Linked DNA regions of Homo sapiens: region 2 is linked to region 1. Evidence: promoter capture Hi-C in human tissues and cell types (Jung and others, 2019). All regions are on one chromosome and are shown on one strand. Each heading gives the region's core, a stretch centred on a gene start or on the middle of the fragment in contact. The rest is flanking DNA. Distances are from core to core; before and after follow the strand shown.

Region 1 (6,030 bases), core at 1,779-4,278:
AATAAACTAGGTATTGATGGAACGTATCTCAAAATAGTAAGAGCTATTTATGACAAACCCACAGCCAATATCATACTGAATGGGCAAAAACGGGAAGCATTCCCTTTGAAAACCAGCACAAGACAAGGATGCCCTCTCTCACCACTCCTATTCAACATAGTGTTGGAGGTTCTGGCCAGGGCAATCAGGCAAGAGAAAGAAATAAAGGGTATTCAATTAGGAAAAGAGGAAGTCAAATTTTCCCTGTTTGCAGATGACATGATTGTATATTTAGAAAACCCCATTGTCTCAGCCCAAGATCTCCTTAAGCTGATAAGCAACTTCAGCAAAGTCTCAGGATACAAAATCAATGTGCAAAAATCACAAGCACTCCTATACACCAATAACAGACAATAACAGAGAGCCAAATCATGAGTGAACTCCCATTCACAATTGCTACAAAGAGAATAAAATACCTAGGAATCCAACTTACAAGGGATGTGAAGGACCTCGTCAAGGAGAACTACAAACCACTGCTCAGTGAAATAAAAGAGGACACAAACAAATGGAAGAACATTCCATGCTCATGGATAGGAAGAATCAGTATTGTGAAAATGGCCATACTGCCCAAGGTAATTTATAGATTCAATGCCATCCCCATCAAGCTACCAAAGACTTTCTTCACAGAATTGGAAAAAACTACTTTAAACTTCATATGGAACCAAAAAAGAGCCCGCATTGCCAAGACAATCCTAAGCAAAAAGAACAAAGCTGGAGGCACCACGCTACCTGACTTCAAACTATACTACAAGGCTACAGTAACCAAAACGGCATGGTACTAGCACCAAAACAGATATATAGACCAACAGAACAGAACAGAGGCCTCAGAAATAACACCACACATCTACAACCATCTGCTCTTTGACAAATTGACAAAAACAAGAAATGGGGAAAGGATTCCCTATTTAATAAATGGTGCCAGGAAAACTGGCTAGCCATATGTAGAAAGCTGAAACTGGATCCCTTCCTTACACCTTATACAAAAATTAATTCAAGATGGAGTAAAGACTTAAATGTTAGACCTAAAACCATAAAAACCCTAGAAGAAAACATAGGCAATACCATTCAGGACATAGGCATGGGCAAAGACTTCCTGACTAAAACACCACAAGCAATGGCAACAAAAGCCAGAATAGACAAATGGGATATAATTAAACTAAAGAGCTTCTGCATGGCAAAAGAAACTACCATCAGAGCGAACAGGCAACCTACAGAATGGGAGAAAATTTTTGCAATCTACCCATCTGACAAAGGGCTAATATCCAGAATCTACAAAGAACTTAAACAAATTTACAAGAAAAAAAACAAACAACCCCATCAAAAAGTGGGCAAAGGATATGAACAGACACTTCTCAAAAGAAGACATTTATGCAACCAACAGACACATGAAAAAATGCTCATCATCACTGGTCATCAGAGAAATGCAAATCAAAACCACAATGAGATACCATCTCATGCCAGTTAGAATGGCGATCATTAAAAAGTCAGGAAACAACAGATGCTGGAGAGGATGTGGAGAAAGAGGAACACTTTTACACTGTTGGAGGGAGTGTAAATTAATTCAACCATTGTGAAAGACAGTGTGGCGATTCCTCAAGGATCTAGAACTAGAAATACCATTTGACCCAGCCATCCCATTACTGGGTATATACCCAAAGGATTATAAATCATGCTGCTATAAAGATACATGCACACGTATGTTTATTGTGGCACTATTCACAATAGCAAAGACTTGGAACCAACCCAAATGTCCATCAATGATAGACTGGATTAAGAAAATGTGGCACATATACACCACGAAATACTATGCAGCTGTAAAAAGGATGAGTTCATATCCTTTGCAGGGACATGGACGAAACTGGAAACCATCATTCTCAGCAAACTATCACAAGGACAGAAAACCAAACACCGCATGTTCTCATAGGTGGGAATTGAACACTGAGAACACTTGGACAAAGGGCGGGGAACATCACACACGGGGGCCTGTCGGGGACTGCGGGGCTGGGGGAGGGATAGCATTAGGAGAAATACGGAATGTAAATGACGAGTTGATGGGTGCAGCAAACCAACATGGCACACGTATACCTATGTAACAAACCTGCACGTTGTGCACATGTACCCTAGAACTTGAATAAAAAAAAAAAAAAAAAAGAAAAATTACTTGACATATCTTGACATTTTAGGCTCCCAGGATTTTACAGTATTCTTAACAGGTTTTGTCAGCAAAATCAACCCCCACCCCCGCATCAGTTTAAGAGCCCTGGAAGGCTCTGCCTATTCACCAGCATAGAGCTGAGATCCTTAAAGGGCCAGTTCAGGGCACTGCTCCAGCAACCGTTGCGCTGCTATAAGCTTGAGCACATCTCTTGCCCCTCCTCTCTACTTTTATAGATCCTGCATTTATTTAGCATATAATCTTTTCAATATTGACTTTGTATATGTATGTCTTCCCCTAAACTGGATGTATCTTTTAAGGAAAAGCCTGGGGTTCGTCATCCCCCTATGTATCACCTTTACAGGCGGTCACCCAAAATCTCCACATTCATCATAGAAACAGAAATTCCACTAATAAATGTCAGGTACTGCCTCCTTAACCTTGGTCCGCTATTTCCCTCCCACTTTCAGCAGTCTGGTTTATTCCATGGGTGGAAGAGGAAGCCAAGTTGGCTGAGTGTGAAGGGAATGGCGTCAGTGTGACTTCACGCCACATCGTCCCGAATGCCAGCTCCACACTGCGGTGGCACGAACGCAGGATTGAGAGATGCAGCTGGAGTAAAGAGAGAAGCCCATGTCCCTCAGACGCCACACAAAATGGGGGTAACCGCGAGAACAAAGCAGGGTACCCAACGGGGTGTGGCGGGACACCTGGGCGCACGCCGCCAGCGCCCGGGAGAGCGAAGGCGGGGAGAGAGGAACCACGCTGAGGCGTGGCAGGATGGGGGCGGGACTTCCGGAAGCCATTTGGCTGAGTGGCAGGGGAACCGGAAGTGGAGGAGCTGCTGCTGGTGCTGGGGCCGGAGGAGGGACGCGCCGGAGCGGGACCGACGGGACCGAGCGAGCGACCGACGCGCCACCCGCCGACGCCTCAGCCGCTTGGGGCCCGCACGGACCCTCTACTTCAGTGAGTGCATCCAGGGTCGCAGGGAACCGGTGGCTTAGAGGCGGGGGTCGGAAGGGGCTGCGAGGTGTTATTGTGAGAGGCCCGCGACCTCCCCTCCCCCACCCTTGCGGCCCCTCCCCCCACGCCGCCCCATCCACTTGGGGGGGGCCTCGCGAGCGCGCGCCTTCTCTGCGGGCCCAGCGTCGGCTTCCCAGCAGCCGGCGCAGCTAGTTTTCGCTCTGAGAGCCCTTTCCCGATATTCCATACCGAAAGCTGGCGTTTCTCCTCAGCCGCCGGCCGGCGCCTCCACGGCCTTTCCCAGGAGGGTAGCGCGGCGGGCGCCCCGCCCCGCCCTGCCCTGCCCTGCCCTGCCGGGCCCACCCGCGGTAGGCCTTGCGCACCCCAGCTCGCCCCGGCTGGGCGCTGCAGCTCCTGCCCGGGTCTCCGCTGCTGCCTTTTCCCTTTATCACAGGGGTCTAACTTCTCACTCTTCTCTCCCCTCGCGTCTGGTCGGAGGCCAAAACCAGTTACTCCGTTGTGTTTTTACCGAGCACTTTTCCCTCCTCCTTTTGTTGAAAAATTTCAACTCTTTAGAAACTTCTCCGTTGCCTCTTAGGATGTGTTTATTCAAAAGTTGCATAGACCGTCACCACTCGGAAGGGATTATTTCTTGGAAGGCTTTCCAGCCCCCATCTCATCTTAGACATGAATGTGCTCGGAGCGGCTGGTGACCTGCCCAAGGTCAGCCAGCTAGATAAACCTGTCAGCGGAGAGGTTTGGGGGGATGTTTTTTTCCTGGCTCACCGTCCGTTTGCCAGATCCGTGCCTTCTGGTCTACAGGTTTGATTGACCCGTTGCGTGGTGACTCATGCTTCTGCTTTTCATAGCTCGCAGGCCAGCGTTGCTTTTCAGAATTTATACACAAACAAGAACTAACACTCGGAGCTTTCGCCTCTTTGTAGAGCTTACCCGTAGAGAAAGGAAAGACCACCCGGATCCACCCTAGGACCTCATTTTGTACAGCTTGAAATTATGGGAAGGGGTTGGGCCGGGGGTAAAGGTGTGGAGAAAGTGGAAGGAGAAAGTGCTTAATTAAGATTGTCTTTGCCTTGGATGTGCCTTGTGTCTTTGGCTTCTTCTGGGCACATTGTTCTGACATAAAGGTTGCCTCCTTGTGGGGGAGAAGGGGAGGATTAGTTTGTTGGCTTGGGCATTTGATCATAAATTATGGAGGTGCTGGACCGGAGGAACCACCCACCAGCCCACGGAGGCTACCGGGCATTCAGGATAAGGGCCGCCTTCTTCTTCAGAATAACCATACCCACTCCCTCTGAAACAAAGTGGAGAGTCTTAGGTCTGAGTGGAAACTCTAAATCTTTTAATTCTTGGTTCAACTTTCTTCATCTGTTTTCCTGGTTCAGACTAAAACATCTAACTCAGCTGGAGAAGTTATAACGCTTTGTTGTTGGACGTGGTTTCTCATTAAATACATTGCACTATGCTGGTATAAGCACTTGGAAATTCTAGTGCTGTATTGTCATAGTAAGTAGAGAATATAGAAAAGGCAGGAAAATCGTGCAAGTCGGTTACTCCTCGTCTTCCCAGAGAACTCACTTTAATGGACAACAAAGCTTCCCCTGGAGTACAGTCTGTTGTGGCAAATTAACAAAACTTGTTCTTCAGACCTTTTATTTGCATTCTGCTTGGTCTTTCTTTCTTTTTTTTTTTTTTTTTTTGTGTGTGTGACGGAGTCTCAGTCTGTCGCCCAGGCTGGAGTGCAGTGGCGCGATCTCTACTCACTACAACCTCTGCCTCCCGGTTCAAGCTTATAGGCATGTGCCACCACACCCAGCTAATTTTGTATTTTTTTTTTTTAGTAGAGACGGGGTTTCGCCACGTTGGCCAGGCAGGTCTTGAACTCCCGACCTCAAGTGATCCACCCGCCTCGGCCTCCCAAAGTGCTGGGATAACAGGCGCAGGAAACCCAAAGTCACTCAGAAGTTTGCGTCTTACCACTGGGTAGCTCTTAGTTCGTTCTTATTTTATGTGTCCATAAGAGCAGATAATTCTTCGTTTCAATTGGAAAGAATACAACAGCTGGAGCCTGAGCAACATGGCAAGACCTCGTCTCTACGAAATTTAAAAATTAGCCATGTGTGGTGGCGTGGGCCTGCAGTACCAGTTACTCTGGAAGGAAGAAATGGGAGGATCACTTGAGCCCAGGAGATCAAGGCTGCAGTGAGCTGTGTTACGCCACTTCACTCCAGCTAACGACTGACTGAGACCCTGTCGGGGTAAAAAACAAAAAACAAAACACAGCCGGCTGGGTGCTGTGACTCATTCCTGTAATTCCAGCACTTTGGGAGGCCAAGGCAGCAGGATCACTTGAGCCTAGGAGTTCAAGATCAGCCTGAACAATATGGTGAGATCCCCATCTATTGGAAAAAAAAAAAAAAAAGGTCAGGCAGCTATTCGGGAGGATCGCTTGAGTGCAGGAGGCGGAAACTGCAGTGAGCCATGATTTCTCCACTGTGCTTCAGTCTGGGCATCAGAGTGAAGCCCTATCTCAAAAAAAACAAAAAAAAAGCCGGCCGGGCGTGGTGGCTCACGCCTGTAATCCCAGCACTTTGGGAAGCCAAGGTGGGCGGATCACCTGATGTCAGGAGTTCGAGACCACCCTGACCAATATGATGAAACCCCGTCTTCACTAAAAATACAAAAATTAGCTGGGCATGGTGGCAGGCACCTGTAATCCCAGTACTCGGGATGCTGAGACGGGAGAATTGCTTGAACCCGAGAGGCGGAGGTTGCAGTGAGCCAAGGTCGCGCCGTTGTACTCCAGTCTGGGCAACGGGAGCGAAACTCTGTCTCAAAAAAAGAAAAGCCAGTTT
Region 2 (5,929 bases), core at 2,134-4,633, 110 kb before region 1:
CCTCGTCTCTACTAAAAATACAAAACAAAAAAAAATTAGCCAGGCGTCGTGGTGGGCGCCTGTAGTCTCAGCTACTCAGGAGGCTGAGGCAGGAGAATGGTGTGAAGCCAGGAGGCGGAGCTTGCAGTGAGCAGAGATTGCGCCACTGCACTCCAGTCTGGGGGGAAAGAGCGAGACTCCGTCTAAAAAAAAAAAAAAAAGAAAGAAAAGAAAAGAAAAAAAAAGAAAAGGAAAAGAAAAGAAAACATTTTCAGATTTGAAGAAAAAAATCTGATAATGGATATAAGAAGATTGATCAGGCTCAAGGCAAATTATTAATTAGTATTAGAAACCAACACCAACTGGTTCTTCAACCATTATCAAACACATTGATAACAGTATATGAAATGAAGGAATCTCACATAAATAATGTAATAGCCATTTGTCACTGGAGGTCACCTTTTATGACAAGAAAAATAATCCCACGTTCTTCATATGTTTAATGAAGTTAAGTTTTATAAAACAGATTTATAATCGCTGCCATGTATCATTCTGGGGGAGAAAAAAACAGTAAGCACAAAAAGAAAGCCTAAGATTATGGACAGAAAAAAAATTCAAAGAAAACTTAAATCTAACAACAAAAATACCATAGCACTGTATAAGTTATCACATAGAACATGAAGAACTAGTATACATTCCAGAGGAAAAGCTTGTTAAATCCTACACTGCTAACACTATAACTATATTGAATAAACATACTGCCCCTTAAATATAATTAGCACCATTATTTGAAAACAGAGACAAGAGAAAAGCATCTATAAGACTTGAATGATAAAAGCTGAAATTATGTGAAATCCTTATACTTCAGGCAAGGACATGAATGCTAAAGATCTCAAATTTTCTCAGTGACATGCAAGTAAATGAAAGTAAAGATACGGTTTATTTGTAAAACACGATGCACAATTGAAGGGAGAAATTAAGTATTTAGATCACTTTTTAGCATGCCCTCAAGTAAGTCGGCCAAAACATAATGAGATCAGTACTGGTGGTTAAGAAAAGAGTAACACCAAAAACTTCAGAAAAAGTGGGTCTTATAAAGGCTGTTTCCTAAATGTAGTAATGTATAAGTAATCATGCCATGCTCCACAGACAAGCAAGAGATGTTAAGAAGATGCCAGCACGATTCCAATTATCAATTGTATTAAGGCATGGTCTTTACATTTCAAACTTTACAGAGTTACCTGGAATTATACAGTAAGTTCCAGAATCTCCTCTTTCATTTGTGAATCTGTTCGCTACCCAAAGGCAAGTTCTATTATAAATAGTCAATTAAGATCCAAAAAAACCAAACTTATTTTTTGCTTTTGGTTAACAAGAAATTCCTTTAGCTTAATTGTAACATGGCTACAGCAATCAGTGTACCTTGCTAATATTTTTAATAACTTTGTAACATAAGGTTGTGATGTTACCATGTTTTACAACTGCAAATAATGCAATGATAAAACTGAAAGTTTTGAACTGAACTTTTTTATCTGAGTAATATTTTATTGTATGAATATACCACCATTTATTTATCTCTTGGTTGTTTCCAGTTCTGGGCTATAATCCAAAATGCTTTTTTCAAACAATAGGCTATATATCATTAATGTCCATTTATCAGCAGTATAAAATATCTTACCATAAATATTAATAAAAGAAGCAGTATAAACAAAATCTGTTTATTTTAAAACTGAGTGAATAAAAGGCAGAGATAGGCAATGAGGAAATGAGGAATTTTTTAATGATGCAGATAATATGTTCTAAAATATAATGAAGACCTAAATTAGCTGAGAAATGTGTTCAACAATCACTCCAAACTAAGTATGAATTAATGATTCTATCAATTCATTAATTCTATTAAATCTATTAATGATTCTATTAAACATTAATGATTCTATTTGCAAATTAAAACTTCCTGCTATTCCATTTTAAAGCTTTGGCTATCCCCCATCTGTGATTTTTGTACTGGTTATTTTAACTCAATGTCTGTCAGTTCTTTTCATTTGTAAAATGCAGATAAAAGTAACTACCTACATTATAGGGCTATTGTCACCCAGGCTGGAATGCAGTGATGTGATCATAGCTCACTGTAACCTTGAGCTCCTAGGCTCAAGCGATCCTCCCACCTTAGCCTCCAGAGTAGCTGGGACTACAGGTGCATGCCACCATGCCCGGCTAATTGTTTTAATTTTTTTTTTTAATCCAAAATGTGTTTATTGAGATGGTTTCCCACTCATCTTGATTCAGAGTGCTTTTAGTGCTGCTTCCTCCTGAAGGAACATCCTTCTGTAAGCCTTGCTTTTCCTCCTGTAGGCTGGCAGAGGACAGTGGAGCAGCCAACACACAAAACTACCGTTTGTGCATGGCTAAAGACCGTGATGATTTTATAGCATCCTGGGCATTTCACATCCATGAAGCAGGAATTGGGGCTCTGCACCAGGCGTTTCTTCTTGTGTTTCCTCTTCTCCTTTTCTGGAGAGGGATGAAGGAGACCCTTTGCAAGAGGCATGTTCTCGTGTGGGTAGGTCATCACCGCCGGAAAGGTTAATTTTTTTTTTTTATAGTCAAGGTCTCACTTTGTCACCTAGGCTTGTCTTGCAACTCCTGGCTTCAAGCAATCCTTTCATCTCAGCCTCCCAAAATGTTGGGATTGCAGGTGTGAGCCAATGTGCCCAGCCAAAAATAAAATTTAAAAAAAAATAATGTAGGTAGTTTCTCATAGTAACGTAAAGAATATGTAACCTGTGTTTTCCTGAAAGTTGAGGGAAAGCTGAGGCAGCTAATGGGCTCATACAAAGGTTTGGAAGACCCATTCTGACTACCTAAAGGAGAGTCAGCATTCTGACCATTCTGATTGTGCTTATAGAAGAGTCAGAACTTGTGAAGAAAGAAGCCTTAAAATCCAAGGTAGTAATCATCCTGGGAAATATTTCAGGAAATAACTTAAGGTTTGTATTTTCCCCTAAAATTGTTAGAAGAAAAGAAATGAAGATCTACATATATGCTCTTTTAGAGCTGAGAATAGCTTCTATAAAGCAGAATTTTAGACTTTTCTCCCCAAAGGAAAATAGGCATATTTATTGTAATTATTCTATCACAGTCAACTTGTGTTAACATATCGTTAATTCTTCCAGAACTGCTACATGTCACCAAATCAAAGCCAGTGTGAAAAATATATTAAATGACTCTTCGGCAAAATACGGTTTCCAATGGGGCAATGAAAAACATGAAATAACTCAGATGAAAGTTGGGATAGTATATAAAAATACGCAGATTCTTTTTCAATGTGAAACCTCTGATTCATTAAGAAATAAATCCCTTAAAGGAAAACCAATACCATATGAATCAATCAATTCATTTCTAATGTAAGAATGGGTACAACAAAATTTAAATGTGTTTTATACAGTACTAATTAGTCATGCAAGATCTTAACATTTTGCTTGTTTGCCTGCCCCCATACCTAACTACTATATATCATTTGTTTCTATCTTTAAAATATTTGATCATAGAAATTAAGCCTAAGAATATTGGGGGCTTTTTTCCCCATAAGAAACTACTCAAGGTAAGTATTACTCTAGGAAAATTGTGTTGCCTGGTCTTTATCCAGAATCTTGGTTGTGTCTGCTGCAAAAAAGGGAAAAACTGCTTTTTCAAGGCCATAGCAAACACAGCATGACATGAAAAATCTAAAAGATTCTGAGAGTTAGGAAATCTTCTAAAGGATCCTCTCGCCATTTAAGAGGCAGGAAAACTTCCCAAGGTAAACCAGGGAAAAATCAAGAGTCTCTGTAAAATATATAGCAATATAATAAATTCACAACAGCCCTTGCCTTCAAGCAGCATACATTAACAATAAAAGTCAACTACAAGAGATATCAGAAAGCAAAACAAGACTAATTGCCACATGACTCAGAGACAATTAGGCTATTTCAGTTCAAAGGAGGGAATGATCATCATGAGCCAGAATAGCTGAGAAAGCTTCACTAAGGCTGAGAAGCAACTTAAGCTGTCAGGAATAGGTGTTAGTACTGAGGACGGGGCAGCTCACTCTGGCCCCATGTTTAGACTCCTGTCTTCATTGTCCTGACTCCTGAAGAAGGATATGGCAAAGGATGTGAATCTGACAGCTTTTAACAACATAAGGCAACCAGCTTTGAATTTGCCTCCTGTGTAAGTGGGGTGATTGCCCTAGATAAAGCAACAGTTTCCAAGGCAGAAAAAAAGAGATGATAATCCAGCAGAAGAAGAAAAACACACACACAAAAACCAACAGAACCACCACAAAGCCAAGTGATTCAAACACCTGACCCTGGTTTCCTTGCCAAGAAACAAGTTAATTCCTATGCTAAGCACCTTTCCTCTGTTTTCACATTTCTTCTGTTTTCAAATGCTGAATTCAACAAGAAATCATAAAATCATACCACTTTAGTAGTTCTGAAAAGTTTTATAATGCCTCTTTTTTGTTGTGTACTATGGGGTGGAAAACTCTTTTGTCTTATTCCTGAATCAAGAAAGTAGAAACCTTTGCCAGAATCATTTGCACTAGATAAGTGAATTTGCATATCAGACCATATTTTTAAAAGCAGAAACATCCTGTATAGAGACTCTCCTTATAGAATGACTGACCTGCCTTGGCCTAAGGAAGCCTTCTCCCCCTCTTCCAAGCACAATCTTCCTGTTTTCTCAGCCTCATCTGAACCCGCTCAACCAAACAAAGAACCACTCAAACAAAATTTCACAGAATACCAACTTTAATAATTTCTAGCCAAATCAACACAAACTGTGGCTCTGGCCTAGAATAAACTGCTACAAGATACTTTTTTTTTTTTTTTGAGACAGAGTCTCGCTCTGTCTCCCAGGCTGGAGTGCAGTGGTGCAATCTCGGCTCACCACAGCCTCTGCCTCCCAGGTTCAAGCGATTCTCCTGCCTCAGCCTCCAGAGTAGCTGGGATTACAGGCACCCGCCACCACGCCTGGCTAATTTTTGTATTTTCAGTAGAGACGAGGTTTCACCATGTTGGCCAGGCTGGTATCGAACTCCTGACCTCAGGTGATCCTCCTCGGCCTCTCAAAGTGTTGGGATTACAAGTGTGAGCCACCGCACCTGGCCGCTACAAGATTCTTTATTTGCAATGACTCTCCTCTCCTTTTACCTTTGTTAATAATCACTCATTTCTTCCCCACAGATGCATCAAAGCTAAGATTCTTCGAAATATCCCACATGCGGCCAGGCGCAGTGGCTCATGCCTGTAATCCCAGCACTTTGGGAGGCGGAGGCGGGCATATCATCTGAGGTCAGGAGATCAAGACCATCCTGGCCAAAATGGTGAAACCCCATCTCTACTAAAAATACAAAAATTAGCCAGGCATGGTGGTGTGTGCCTCTAATCCCAGCTACTCGGGAGGCTGAGGCAGGAGAATTGTTTGAACCTGGGAGGCGGAGGCTGCAGGGAGCTGAGATTGTGCCACTGCATTCCAGCCTGGGCGACGGAGTGAGACTCCATCTCAAAAAAAAAAGAAAAAGAAATATCGCACATTCACGGAGCATCTTTAGATCAGAATCACCTCGGCTCTACGTTGAGACTACTGTAATTCTTAGCACAAAGACAGAAAAAGTTGACTCAAGGCTGTCATTTAAAAGAAAAAGCATAATTAATAAACCTTATTTGATAAATAAAAAGATACCTATTGTCTTCATATTACAAACACCGAAAATAAAGCTCAACAATGAAAAAATATATTTTTTTAATTGTGTTTGTTTGTAGAGGTGAGGTCTCGCTATGTTGCCCTGGTCTTGAACTCACTTAAGTGATCCTCCCACTTCAGCCTCCCATAGTGCTGGGATCACAGGCGTAAGCCACCATGCCTGGCAAGAAAATGTTCAGAACAAACCCTACAATTAACTCAGTTC

Evidence for each region. The method cuts DNA at HindIII sites, captures the fragments that hold promoters and counts their contacts. A contact is called where the count stands out against the background at its distance.
Region 2: a contact is called between a fragment that was not itself captured here and the fragment with the promoter of PAFAH1B2 in region 1, in 2 of the 25 tissues and cell types used here (dorsolateral prefrontal cortex and hippocampus).

Annotation. Positions count from the first base shown.
Region 1 is chr11:117,141,259-117,147,288 of GRCh38, forward strand. PAFAH1B2 (platelet activating factor acetylhydrolase 1b catalytic subunit 2) reads left to right here and starts at 3,029. Exons shown (of 6, transcript NM_002572.4): 1 at 3,029-3,160. RefSeq lists a silencer at 3,239-3,558 and an enhancer at 4,109-4,288. The HindIII fragment of the contact is 6,098 bases long and covers 1,108-6,030 here.
Region 2 is chr11:117,033,525-117,039,453 of GRCh38, forward strand. The region is part of intron 1 of SIK3 (SIK family kinase 3); the gene reads right to left. It also overlaps the pseudogene RPS27P19. Among named protein-coding and RNA genes, the nearest start is that of SIK3, 62 kb to the right of the region's middle. The HindIII fragment of the contact is 4,127 bases long and covers 1,321-5,447 here.